Regions from separate parts of the Homo sapiens genome. Here regions 2, 3, 4 and 5 are each linked to region 1. The links are contacts of gene promoters, found by promoter capture Hi-C in blood cells and fetal thymus (Javierre and others, 2016). All regions are on one chromosome and are shown on one strand. Each heading gives the region's core, a stretch centred on a gene start or on the middle of the fragment in contact. The rest is flanking DNA. Distances are from core to core; before and after follow the strand shown. Region 1 holds the start of ETS1 (ETS proto-oncogene 1, transcription factor). Region 2 has its middle 7.8 kb from the start of KCNJ5. Region 3 overlaps LOC124902787 (a long non-coding RNA gene). Region 4 overlaps KCNJ1 (potassium inwardly rectifying channel subfamily J member 1). Region 5 overlaps LOC124902787 (a long non-coding RNA gene).

What was found. The method cuts DNA at HindIII sites, captures the fragments that hold promoters and counts their contacts. A CHiCAGO score of 5 or more calls a contact.
Region 2: a contact is called between a fragment that was not itself captured here and the fragment with the promoter of ETS1 in region 1, in 4 of 17 cell types (naive B cells, megakaryocytes, total CD8 T cells and 1 more). The highest score is 7.0, in naive B cells.
Region 3: a fragment that was not itself captured here is called in contact with the fragment with the promoter of ETS1 in region 1 in 17 of 17 cell types (activated CD4 T cells, total B cells, naive B cells and 14 more); the score reaches 35.2 in activated CD4 T cells.
Region 4: a contact is called between a fragment that was not itself captured here and the fragment with the promoter of ETS1 in region 1, in 3 of 17 cell types (total B cells, naive CD4 T cells and naive B cells). The highest score is 6.9, in total B cells.
Region 5: a contact is called between a fragment that was not itself captured here and the fragment with the promoter of ETS1 in region 1, in 15 of 17 cell types (activated CD4 T cells, total B cells, naive B cells and 12 more). The highest score is 21.3, in activated CD4 T cells.

The regions. Positions count from the first base shown.
Region 1 is chr11:128,586,283-128,588,815 of GRCh38, reverse strand. ETS1 (ETS proto-oncogene 1, transcription factor) reads left to right here and starts at 1,258. Exons shown (of 10, transcript NM_001143820.2): 1 at 1,258-1,328. LOC105369565 (a long non-coding RNA gene) reads right to left here. Exons shown (of 5, transcript XR_948163.3): 4 at 1,856-2,476. RefSeq lists a silencer at 1,099-1,305. The HindIII fragment of the contact is 9,036 bases long and covers 1-2,533 here.
Region 2 is chr11:128,882,258-128,884,790 of GRCh38, reverse strand. No RefSeq gene overlaps it. Among named protein-coding and RNA genes, the nearest start is that of KCNJ5, 7.8 kb to the left of the region's middle. The HindIII fragment of the contact is 3,507 bases long and covers 1-2,533 here.
Region 3 is chr11:128,310,746-128,313,278 of GRCh38, reverse strand. All of the region lies in intron 1 of LOC124902787 (a long non-coding RNA gene), which reads left to right. Among named protein-coding and RNA genes, the nearest start is that of LINC02098, 100 kb to the right of the region's middle. The HindIII fragment of the contact is 1,865 bases long and covers 328-2,192 here.
Region 4 is chr11:128,862,376-128,864,908 of GRCh38, reverse strand. The region is part of intron 1 of KCNJ1 (potassium inwardly rectifying channel subfamily J member 1); the gene reads left to right. LOC107984409 (a long non-coding RNA gene) reads right to left here. Exons shown (of 3, transcript XR_001748442.2): 2 at 899-1,012. Among named protein-coding and RNA genes, the nearest start is that of KCNJ1, 3.7 kb to the left of the region's middle. The HindIII fragment of the contact is 3,618 bases long and covers 1-2,533 here.
Region 5 is chr11:128,328,731-128,331,263 of GRCh38, reverse strand. All of the region lies in intron 1 of LOC124902787 (a long non-coding RNA gene), which reads left to right. Among named protein-coding and RNA genes, the nearest start is that of LINC02098, 120 kb to the right of the region's middle. The HindIII fragment of the contact is 7,097 bases long and covers 1-2,533 here.

The sequences.
Region 1 (2,533 bases), core at 9-2,508:
GCAAACTTGCTATCTTTCTAGTGCCTAGAACAGTGCCTGGCACAGGCAATTTATTAAACTAAAGTGAACCAATAGCATTACCTCTTCCTTACTTCCAAGTTAATGTGCAAAGGCAGAAGATGAGCAGTAAAATCTTGCTTTACTTACAATGTCATCTTAACTGCATTGCCAGCTTTATACAATGAAGGCTGATGATGATATGGCTCCAAATGACAGTTATTAGATTTTCAAGGATTTTCTAAGTTTGTATCTTTATTAAAAAGAGAAAGAAGCCAACTATGACAAATCTTAACTCCCACCTCCTACTCAAAGAAGATGGAATCTTTTAGGATAAAAGTCTTAGATTAAGCAGCCAAATACTGACTTCTCAAAAAAAATTGTAATAACTCCATTCATAGAAATGAGATTATGCTGTAACATTCTTACCATAGTCCTGAATATGTGAATAAAAGATGCTGTGTATTTTCACTTAGGACAGATGTAAGATTTTCATATTGTTTACATTTTCCCTAAATGAGAAATGTATGAACACTTCTGCCCTTTTATTCCTGCACCACGGACCATGAGTCAGGGCTGCTAAAAGTATCCTTATTTTAGAGATTGCCTAAAACCAGACTTATATGAAAAGGGGATTTTTAGCTTTACTTTTCAGAAATCCCAAGTCCATATCCAGTCAGCTCTCTTCCACAAAATTATTTTCTTTTCTTTAGAAAATATCACATTTCATATCAAGTTATTAGAGAGAAACGGGAAGCCTGAGCAGGTGACTGGGTGGTGGACGTCCTGTGTTTCTAAAGCAATCCCTTTCCCTCACCTGAGACCTTGCCTAGGTTAATGGGGGCTCCATTGAGAAAGTCAAGGAACATGAAGCATGAATATTTACATATTCAGCAGAGAGTAAATGCATCAGCAAATGATGAGGTGAGATACAGTGTTATCCCACTGAACTAGTTCCCTTTTGCTCATCTCCCTCCCTGTTACTCTCCAAGGCTGAGTTATATTCAGCTGAAGCACAATTTGAAGAATACGAAATAATGTGTGATTTGGTGCCACCACTGTCAATCAACAGTGCTTTCCACCTAGACTGCTGTGCCTGTGCCAGTGGCTGCTGTCCTGGTGCCAGGGGCAAGAGGAAGACTGCCTTTTTTCCAGCTTTCCCTGGCTTGACCACACCCCCCAATTTAAGGAGGCAGCTCTATTAGAAACATTATGGTCTTTGCATCCTCTTAAGCTACGGAGCAGAGGATTCCCGCAGGTAGTTGGAAAGAGACCACAGACTTTGAGGGAAGCTCACTCAGGATCTGCTCTCCGGCAAAGTAGTAAGTGAGGTGTGTGTCAGTTTCTGCCTAAAACTTTTCAGTCCATTTTCCTTTTCCTGCTTTAAAAAAATTTCTGTGGAATTAAAGAGTAAGTCGGTAGGGAGATTCAGGATACAAGTGAGTTTTCTCTTTCTCTTTTCACGTCTTTCTATATTCCCATTTAATTGTTTAACAATTTTCAAAAATACTTCCTAACCTCGTCAGAATAGTCTGAAAGCAAGACTATGTTTTTAAAAATGTTCCCTGCTTCACAAAAGTAAAACCATGCACGTTTTAGATACCCGTAGATTACTTGTCAGAAACCCTGATTTTTTTTTTTTTTTTTTGCAAATTGGAGCACTTCCAAAGAAATAAAGCTGTAGTTAAATATATAAATTTCTTTTTATTCTCTTTCACTCCTAGTAAATCTATTGTTTTACTTTTTTCTCCTGCTAGTAGTTTAATGAATTGCTTTTAATAGAGAGGAAATTGCTACAGGTTTGAATCTTGCTAGCCAAACTAGCCTGTTTGGTGTTTTTCTCTGTCTTGGGACTGACCTGCAGTTGTCCAAAGATCTACAAGTTCCTAAGTCTGTTGTTGAGACATGGTGTGGGTGTGGGCCGCGGTTGTCTCAGAGTTAGGGAGGTATTTCTTGTCCCCACGGTAGAGCTGGACTCAGTGGCAGGAGATGTCGATGGCAATTCCTCTGCATCCGGTGATTTTATCTGGCCGTGACACTTTGTATGTGACTCCTCACCCACCGTTAAAGGTCTCTGTTACCAACTTTTAAAGTAGTATTTTCTTCAGGCAAACTTAAAAGGGTGCTGGGTCACTGAAATCAATGCATTCTATTGCAGGATTTCTTTATCACCTTTTGGGTAAGTTTTTGTTTTTAATCTCAAGTCCATTTTCCTTCTTACTTTAGACCACTGCCATGCAACTGAGAAAAAAGTATTTGTTAAACAGCAGGAAATACCAATTCTAAAATGATAACTCCATCAGCTCCATTTGATTTGTAAAATTACTGATACTATAACTCTTTCATCAGTTGTGGTTTTGGGTTTGGTGGCCTATTTTTATCCAAAGAGAAAACGCTTTTTCTTCAGGGGCCGTGGGCTGTGCACAAGGGCTGCAGGGTGGCCACTGCTGCTGTTGAGAGTCTTGCTCACCTGTTGTTCCTGAATGGAGGGAAGGGAGAGCTAATGGGTTAATGTCTGCAAAGTGCTTTGAAGATG
Region 2 (2,533 bases), core at 19-2,518, 300 kb before region 1:
CTCACTCCTGTAATCCCAGCACTTTGGGAGGTCGAGGCGGGCGGATCACGAGGTCAAGAGATCGAGACCATCCTGGCCAACCAACCCCGTCTCTACTAAAAATACACAAAATAGCTGGGCGTAGTGGCACATGCCTGTAGTCCCAGCTACTCGGGAGGCTGAGGCAGGAGAATCGCTTGAACCCGGGAGGTGGAGGTTGCAGTGAGCCGAGATCGTGCCACTGCACTCCAGCCTGGGTGACAGAGCGAGACTCCGTGTCAAAAAAAAAAAAGTGATATATGAAAGTAATATATTTGAAGCATCACATTTTTCTAAATAATTTGAAACAAAAGCAGTTGGGTTTCCTCTTTGACCATCTTCCAATCTGCAGAGGTCATCACTTTCATTTCTTTTGGCTATTTTTTCCCTTTGGTTTTTGTCTGTAAATGACACCCTTCTAGTAATACTTATAGATGCTTCCATCTTCAGAGACGACCTATGAACTTTCTACCACTGAAGATGGAAACGTGGCTCCCTTTCCTCCCCTGAACCCACCACGTGCTCACATACTTCCCATTTCTCGTCCAGCAAGGGAGCTGTGTCACAATTTTGGTTGGATGAATACTCAGTTTTAATATTTTTATGTCTATAAAGTTCTGTTTGTATGTAGCTGATCCATGCAGCAAACCAGATTGCTTTGTCTTTCCTGCACAACTCTTTTTCTTCTCTGGAGGGACTAATTAATTGTCTTGGTTTGGTTTGTGTAGTTGTGTTTGCTCTCATCGCCAATTTCTTTTTTCTTTTTTGGGGGGATGGAGTCTCGCTCTGTCACCCAGGCTGGAGTGCGATGGTGCGATCTTGGCTCACTGCAACCTCTGCCTCTTGGATTCAAGCAATTCTCCTGTCTCAGCTTCCTGAATAGCTGAGATTACAGGTGTGCGTTACGCGCCACCATGCCTGGTTAATTTTTGTATTTTGGATAGAGACAGGGTTTCCTCATGTTGGCCAGGCTGGTCTCAAACTCCTGACCTCAAGTGATTTGCCTTCTTCAGCTTCCCAAAGTGCTGAGATTACAGGCATGAGCCACCATGCCTGGCCTCATCACCAATTTCAATGCAAAAATTTCCACCTACCATTTCAATCTCCTCTCAAGATGTCCAGATGCACCAGAAGTCCTACTGATTCCATCTGGAGAAATCTCCCTGGTGCCTTCTGCTCCCTTTGGTCTGGCCTGGTTGCCCTCTCTGCCTAGCGCACAGCTGGCTTCCTGGCATCTCTGTTTGCTTTGCCTCACTCCCATATTGCATCCCCTGTTTCCTGAATCCCATGCGTGTTTCTTTCTTGGTTCACTCTCTTACTTTTTAGGAAGAACACGTCCTACCATTGCTTCCTAGGAAAGAGAGTGGGCAAGGTACAATTTTGAGATTCTGCATATCTGAGAATATCTCTATTCTATTCAATTGACAACTTGGGCAGGTGTAGAATTCTAAATGGGAAATTATTTTTCTTCGGTATGTTAGAGGGATTTCTTCTTCTTCCACATTTCAATTATATTGTTAGAAGCCCGAAGCAAGTTTCATTCCTGATCCTTTTGCGGGTCCTCTTTTTCCTTTCTGGAAACTAGCCAGATCTTCTCTTAGTGAGTAGTGGTGTGAAATTTCACAACGATGTGCCTTGGTGTGGGACTGTTTTCATCCACTGTACGGAACACTGGGTAGCCCTTTTAATCATCGCCTTTCCTTCTGGGTGAGTTTCTTGCGATGCCTCTTTGAGGATTTCCTCCTTCCTATTTTCTCTGTTTTCTCCTGGAATTCCTCTCACTTAGGTGTCAGATCTCAGAAGCCTCTCATTTCCTCATCTTTTTTCTCTACTTTCGTCTCTTTGTATTTTTGCAGTATGTTCTAGTAGATCTCCTCAACTTTTTTCTTTCAACCCTTCCATTGAGATTTTTATTTTTCTATCATATTTTAATTTCCGAGGGCTCCCCTTTTTTCTATTCCCTGAAGGATTTTTGGAGCATCCTCTTTATTTGAAGCGTTCTTCTCCCTGTACAGACCCTGTTTCCTCCAAGATGCCTTTTCATGCTTGTGTTTTTGCTCTGTCTTTCCTCAGATGCCTGGTAACCGGGCAAGAGGAGGCTCTGGGCCTGTGAACTTGACATCTGTCGGGTTCCCTGTAGGGTGTTCTGGCAGGCCATTTTGTTACAGGAACACTTGGTATCAGATTTTGCTTGCGGGAAAGTCAGATTCCTCAGGAAGAGCTCTTTCAATCTCCTGCTTGGAGGACTGAGTCCTGACCACCAGCCTTCTGAAACCAAGTTGAAGGAGAGAGCTGGGAGTCTTGACATCTAGTATGGATATGTTTACTTAGTCATCCTTTGAGGGGGTCTGATAAGCCCATCCTTAATGGTTCTGTGTGTTTTTCAGTCAAGAGACCCTTTGTTTTCCACTTTTGAGAGAACAAATCTCCAGGCTTCTGCCAGGAAGGGCTGGGAGAAGTCTCTTTTTTGGGCAGAGTCCGGGAGGGGAACAGGAGGTCTAACTAGGGTGCTTCC
Region 3 (2,533 bases), core at 11-2,510, 280 kb after region 1:
ATCATTTCAATATGCAATCAATATAAAATGATTCCTGAGATATTCTCCATCCTTTTTTTATCCAAATTCTTTGAAATCCAGTGTGTATTTCATACTCACATTTCAATTTGGACTAGTCACATTTCCATGCTCAACAGTCACATGTAGACACTGGTTAATATTGGTCTAGAAAACCCATCATATGAGAAGAAGCTATTTATTTTTCTTATGTCATGTATGATTTTGTTGAGAAGATATCAGCATCAGAGTCAATGGGTCTAGTGGTGCTAAGTTGAGCTGTAGAATTTGATAATGAATATTTATCAAGTTCTTAATGTGTTCTAAGCTTTGTTTTAGATACTGGGACTATAGTTGTAAATAAGAGTCAAAATTTACTCCCTTATGGAACTAACATTCTACTATGTGACACAGACAACAAACCAGACACATTTAATATAATCTAGGTTAAATGGTGGTAAGTGCTAAGGAAAAAATAAGGAGAGGTAAAGAGAAATAGAGAATGTTGAGACGGCAATCTAAGTTTTAGAAATAGTTGCCAGTTGCCTTCTTAATTAAAAGGTGACATTTAGTTAAAGACCCTCTGGCAATATTCCATGAAAATTATGACCTTGGATAACTTGGATTTTTAAGTAAACATTGTTGAAATGTATAGGTGAGTTTTTCTCTTAGATTTAAAGGTTTCAGGCCAGGTGTGACTCTCAGGTGAACTTGAGGAAGGACTGTCTAGAGGTCTGAGCCCTCAGAAAAGAGGCTATGTAATGACTTCATAGGACAGTAAACATAAGTGAACATGTTAATGAGACACAGATGGAACAAAATTCTCATGAAGAAAAGTTTCAAGGTGGTAACGAAATTTTGACTTAGCGTCATATTATATTGGACAATTTGGAATCCCCACTTTAACCTTATATTTTGATAAACTTGCTTTGCAGGTTTCAATTCTTCTTACCATTATAAACTTCTTACTTTTGTTTTGTTTTTGAAAGTCAGTACAGAGCCTTGGCAGTGTCATACAGAAGCTCTTGTGTTACAGGTCCCTTTACTTCTAGATTAGTGGGTTTCCCCCTTTCTCTGGTGAATACAAGATGAGTTACCCTCAATGAGGCTCATAAGCAAGTGTGTCTTTTGAACTGAAATGGTGTTCAGTGGGTGCCCTGTGCAACTGTGGCCTCAAAAATAGTTGTAGGGTGACCCTGACTTACTCCTTTCTAGGTTTCCCCTGGACTGAGCACTATGAGGAGAGAGACCTCATTGCATTCCCCACTCCTTTTCTCTCCTTGCTGAGACTTGGTCCAGAACCTCACATCCTATACAAACAGTACATGCTGAGGGCAGATGTGCTTAGAACACCTCCCTGAACTCTCTCAAACTCTCTTCAGTGCTTCACGACTAACACCTCAATAGTGAGCATTCCTCACTGAGTGCCCTCAACTCTTTTTGTTTCATCTGCTTGTTAGTTTTCATAAGTTAAATGTTTGCACTGTACTGCTGTACTATCTTTTAATGAAAATGGTTCCAGGCTATTTTATTTAAAAACATAGGCTCATAGAATGCTCATTTCAGGAAACAAAAAGGAGTAATTCTTCTGAAATTCCTGTAAGAGTATATGGGATATGGTGATAGGAAGAAACCCACTGGGTTTAGCCAACCAGGGCAATTTACTGAAAAAGAGCCTTGGGCAGAAAGAGCCCCACTGAAAGTAGCAGTACAGGAGAATGCCAAAGACCTCATTTAGCCCTTCCTCTTTCCTTCAGAAGGGTTTTAAATAAACCATTCCAAATAATTAAATTTTGATTTGAAATACTTCAAAATTATAGGAAAATTCCCATAGAGTAGGCAGGCCAAGACAGAGGCAGTTATAGCCCCTTTTAATAGGACCTTTATAAGGGAGGCTGGAGCCCAATGAGATCAAAACAAGGGAAGGTGTTCTGACCTCACCCCGTAGCATAGATTAAACTCCTAACCTCAGTCTGCCCAGGAGATGAAAATCATTGCAGCTGCTTCAAGGCCACAGCCAGTCACACATGAGAGTTGCCTCATATCCCAGGGCTCACCCTCAAATCTGCCTCCACCACCCTTGCTTGGCTAGCAGGTTGTGGATTGGAAGGAGGCCACTGGGGATGGTGCATTAGTCCATTTGCATTGCTATAAAGGAATATGTGCGGCTGGGTAATTTATAACAAAAATAAGCTTATTTGGCTCACAGTTCTGCAGGATGCACACAAAGCATCGTGCCAGCATCTGCTTCTGGTGAGGGCCTCAGGAATGTTATAGTCAAGGTGAAAAGTCTAAGGGGAGCCTGGATGTCACATGAGGGAGAGAGTGAGCAAGAGAGAGGGAGCTGGAAGTTCCAGGCTTTCTTAAACAACCAGATATTGGGTGAACTCACAGAGCAAGAATTTACTCATTACCATGAGGGGGCACCGAGTCATTCATGAGGGATCCACCTCCACGACCCCAACACCTCCCACCAGGCCCACCTCCAACATGAGGATCACATCTCAGCATGCGAATGGAGGGGATAAAATATCCG
Region 4 (2,533 bases), core at 24-2,523, 280 kb before region 1:
CTCTGCCTGCACAGTGCAAGGTGGACTAGAGTAGGGTAAGACCACGGCCGGGTAATCAGGGAGGAGATTACCAAGAGGGAGAAGACACAAAGTCTGGTGGCCAATCAGCTGCAGAGAGTGATGGGGACAGGCGAGGATGAAGTGGAGCTCTGAAACAGGAGCCAGAGACTCCCAAAGTCCGCAAAAAGAGCACACTTTGAATGGCACAGACCCTTTTCCTTCCACTCACCCTCCCACATTCAAGACTGTGATGACCTAGGCTCAAGCCAAAAGTATACAGAAAAGGGCCTAGGCTTTCCCAATCTGCTCTTTCTCCTGAAATATATATGGTTCAGGAATAGTATTAGTACTGCTGTGAAATAGCAAAAAGTGGTTGGCTCGATTATGTGGTTCAGAAATCATCATGAACAAGCAGGGTGTGCAGAAATTGGAAAAAGAAAACAACAAAAACAAACATCTTCAAAAAATGCTGAAGAAAAAAATTAGTGTAGAGACATATAAAAGATAGACCCCTAGAAAAGTCAACAATAGGCCTGGTGCAGTGGCTTACACCTGTAATCCCAGCACTTTTGGTGGCTGAGGCTCATCTGAGGTCAAGATTTCAAGACCAGCCTGGCCAACATGGAAAAACCTCATCTGTCTAAAAATTTGAAAATTAGCCAGGCATGGTGGCACACACCTGTAGTCCCAGCTTCTCAGGGGGCTGAGGCATGAGAATTGCTTGAACCCGGGAGGCGGAGGTTGCAGTGAGCTGAGATCGTGCCACTGCACTCCTCAAGCCTGGGTGATAGGGTGAGACTTTGTCTCAAAAAAAAAAAAAAAAAAAAAAAAAAAGAGAGAAAAAGAAAAAAGAAAAAGAAAAGTCAGTAATAAACCTTAAGGTCAAACCTTAAGTTACCTTAAGGTCAAAGGTTGTTCCTTCCTCCACGCAGGACGATTCTAAGCCATCCTTGCAGAAGATTGTGAAGGATGTGCAAAGTGTCAGCCTTTCTTGCCATTGCCTCGTCAGAATCTGTGAGCAAACGGAAAAAAGAACGATGCTCTTACACATGAAACTCCTGGATTCTTTTTAGAAAAATAGCAGAAAGAAACCAAAAATAGTGCAGAGAACAGGTCGCTTCAAAACTATTGAGGATCCAAAGATGTTCTGCCCTAAGGAGTTGCTTCTCAAAAACTGTTATTAAGGTCCTTAGCTGTCAAATATAAAACCCAACCCAAAAGCATTCCATTTAAAACCAGAGCATTGAAACACTAATTTTGAACAATCATTGTAAAGCCTCATCAAATCCAGCTCACTCATTGCAGAAATATGCAACTCAAAGGCCCTAGGAAAAATGTAAATCTGAATTTTCCCAGCACTGTTTTGGATGAATAATTTCCTCTCTCAGAAGAAGCCTGTTGTTACTTTTCAAAATTGGTTCCCCAGTATGCAACAGAGTCCATCTCTGCATGTGTGTATCTGCCCTGTGCTGTGTTCTGCCATTACCATGCTTTGTAAACTTTGCATTCTGGTTAGATGCGTGTGACTCACTGATGCTTCTAAGGGAAGATTCTTTTTGAATAATCCTTGAAATACAAGCCAGATTTTTCCATTTATTTAGAATTTCCCAATGTCCCTGCCCCTCCCTCTGCTCCAGTTGCACACACACCAGTGTTTCTTGGCTGGGATTCAGGAATTGTATTTATTGGGGTCTATCAGTGTGTCACCATATCCCCAGGGAACAGATTTAAATATGCAACCCAACACAATTGAAAGCAACAGGTTAATACTGTCTTTGCAGAGTTAAAACAGCCCAAGTTCTCTCAGGTGACTACCCGTAGGGGAAGTCTCATGGTTCGTTGCCCTTGATTAAATTCTCAGGAGCTTTCTGGCTTTATCCAGATCTACCATTTGTCCTTGAAGAGCTCAGCAGAACTCAGCAACTGTGAATAACTGTTGTGGGTCTTTTCACAGGAGAAGACTCTGTGAAGTGTGTGGCCCCTTGGAGTCCGAGTCCAGTGATGAGATATTCAGAGAGATAAGGGTAATCCCGGTCTCATGCTGGAAAGTGCATGTGACCATTTTGGGGATCAGGGTATTTGGATGCTGTTAAGGGAAGTGTTGGACTGCTGATGAATTATGCACAGAGTATGGGGAGCTTGAATCGGGTTCAGAGATAAGCCACAGGCATGGGCTAAGGTCACCTTAGACCTCTGGGAAGCCCCCGCTGTGCTGGCCTTAGTGAAGTGTGATGACACAGTCCCTATGCTGCAGAAGCTCTGGTCCCCGTGAGGGGATGAGTAGGGATGGCAGGTACAAGAGTGGCTGCATGACACATCAGCGAACTGGCAGAGCATGAGCACGTTCTAACCTACCAACCAGGCTCCCCGACCCAGTCTGCTTCTAGGGCAGCCCCGGGGGGGATGGAGGGGGCGGTAGGACACAGGGCTGTTTCCTCTCCCAATACTCCATCCCCTCAGAGGGAGTGGAGAAGGGGAGTCAGGAGACCCCCAGAGCGCTCCCCAGGACCAGGTCTGAGAGTCCTTTCCAACA
Region 5 (2,533 bases), core at 25-2,524, 260 kb after region 1:
AGTTGCCCGAGGTTGCGGGACTAGCAGAGAAATCAGGAATCCAGGGAATCTAGTTTAGAGCCCTTACTTTTACATCACAGTCTAAGCCCTCATTGATAACAGTTCTGCAAAGTTAGAAAGTCATCACATTATACCCAGGTGTTTGCATTCCTGTAGCCACGTAAGGAGGACTTATTCAGTAGGACAAGAAATTGCAGTTTAAAAGAAAATAATATTGTAAAAGGAAATAGCTACACTTATTTAAGACCTAAAGTTCCATTCAGTGTTTGTCTATTTGATAAATGTTTGAAAAACATTTGAGGATGTCCTGGAAGTAGAGATAAAAGACTTACTCTAGAAAGACAGACATAAGTAAAAGTGAATCATATGCTGAAAGATACTGGGACCTCTGATGAACTTATGCAAGATTAATGTAATTTCACAGGTATTTGGAAATGACACTTTGACAATCTGAACAATGGTGAGGAGACTACAGGGAGAGAGGTTTGGAAGTAACACATATATCGAAGTCTGATGTATTGGCTTAAAATATAATGCCATCTTGGCTTTTCTAATTCAACAAGTAAATATGTATACATACATGTAAAATGTCATCTGAATTGAATGGTAAAATATAGAAATTGGTGACTTTAGTTTGGGTAGCATCCAGAAAGAGAGGAGACCCCACTCTAGCTGGATGTTGTAATAACTTTCATATAAGGGCTATTTACAGCATGTGTGGGTGGAGTTTAAAACATGCACCAGGGGTTGAGCGGTGCCCTGGAATTGATGCCATCAGGAGGCAGCAGCTTTTGCCACCTCCAGGCCCGATGGCCACCAGGAAAGCAGCTGTGTGGAAAAGGATGCCTGATGAGACCTGACCTTGTATCCAGGATGCAGCCAGTCCATGGCAACCCCACAGGGAGAAGAATGGGACAATACATACAGCATCATCCCTCTCCTGCCTCCTCCCATTCTCCTGCCAGTGCTCACCAAAGACCAACCCCAGGGAGTAGCCAGAGGGCAAAGAAGGAGCCTGTAAGTCAGGCTCCTTAGGCATGCATTTTGGAGGGAGGGAAAGTGCATCTGGGGGTGCACCTGGAAGATAGCTAACTCAGTAACTGTTTGCATGTGGCAGTCAGAGAGGGGATGGAATGTGCCAGGAGTCTCAGGTCTTTGGGTATGGGCCAGGGAATATCGAGGATGTGCAAAATGAGGGGGAAATGCTGTGTATGTAACAAATTCATGTACAACTTCTAGTAGGTAATTATTTTATATCAACTATGGAGAGGGTGTGAGAGATATGGAAAGTGTCTACCATCAGTTTAGATAGGTGAGAGTTTAAACCATGGTGGCAAATGAGGTCTCGAGGGAGCCTGTGTATGTGGAGCAATTAGAAGAGATGACCAAAGGCCATGGGATCTCGGATTTGTAAAGATGTAATGAAGACACCGAGAGGAGGTAACCTGGGGGGTATTTCAACCTGGCCTTTTTCTATGTGCCAGGAGTCGTGGGTTTGTATTTGCTTTTTAAGGATTCCCACAGTTCTAAGGGGGAAATGCAGAGTGAATGGAATTTTAAGCTGAGAAATTAAAGACCTGAGCCTGTCTACTGGGCCTCAGAATAGAACCTCCACCGATGACCTTTCCTCTTCAAGCCTTCCGTACCTTTCTGGGGTAAAGTTATTTGACTACATGCTGCCTCGCAGAGTGTTTTCAAGGATAAATGAGATAACGTCTGTAAAGCCCCTGGAGAGGAAGCCCCAATCTAGATAAACACACCCTCTGGTATTTTTAGCCCCAGAGTGCTGGGTGTTCAGGATATGCCATTTAGCAATTCCTGGAGCCTTGAAAAGGAAAGAGAAAGGGGCGTTGTGGGGCCAGGATCAGTGGCATACAACAAATGTTTTTCGAGAAATCCCTCCCACCCTAAGTGTAAGAATCCACGTCAAAGGAAACAAACACCATGAGTAGATAAAACAGGAAGGTGACAGGTTTGCTTGCTTGCAATCAAGACGGGGGATGCCAAAGGGCTAGTTCTGGCTGCTGGCTCACTCTGAGGGGTGGGGGTCCAATGGCTGGCTCCTCCACTGATAATGAAACGAGGGTTAAGCAACTCTCTGTCCTGCAGAGAATGGCAGGAAACATCTTCATCACCCATGACTCCTTGAGAGAGTAGTGGGGTTTGGGGAGGTTGCATTTCCTTTCAAGATTCCAGAAAGGGTGCTCACACCCCCAGGGGCATGAATGCTGGCACGCTGACCCAACACAAGCAAGGCTGCCAGATGACCATGGGGTCCGGCCCGCCCTTCTGTCCCTATCTGCTTCATAAGCACAAAGCCCTTCAGAAAGTAACAACAGGAACCTTGGAATGATAACTCACTTGGAGAAAGGTCTTACAAGAGTTCATCGAGCTGCTTCATCAATGCTCTTTTCTTCCTTTCCATTCTGTAGGGAGAATGTTTATCTCTCAGTTTCATGTTATGGGCCTAATCTCTTTATATATGGAAAGGGAATAAAGTTTGAGTATCTCCTATGCTCCAGGCTGTGAGTTA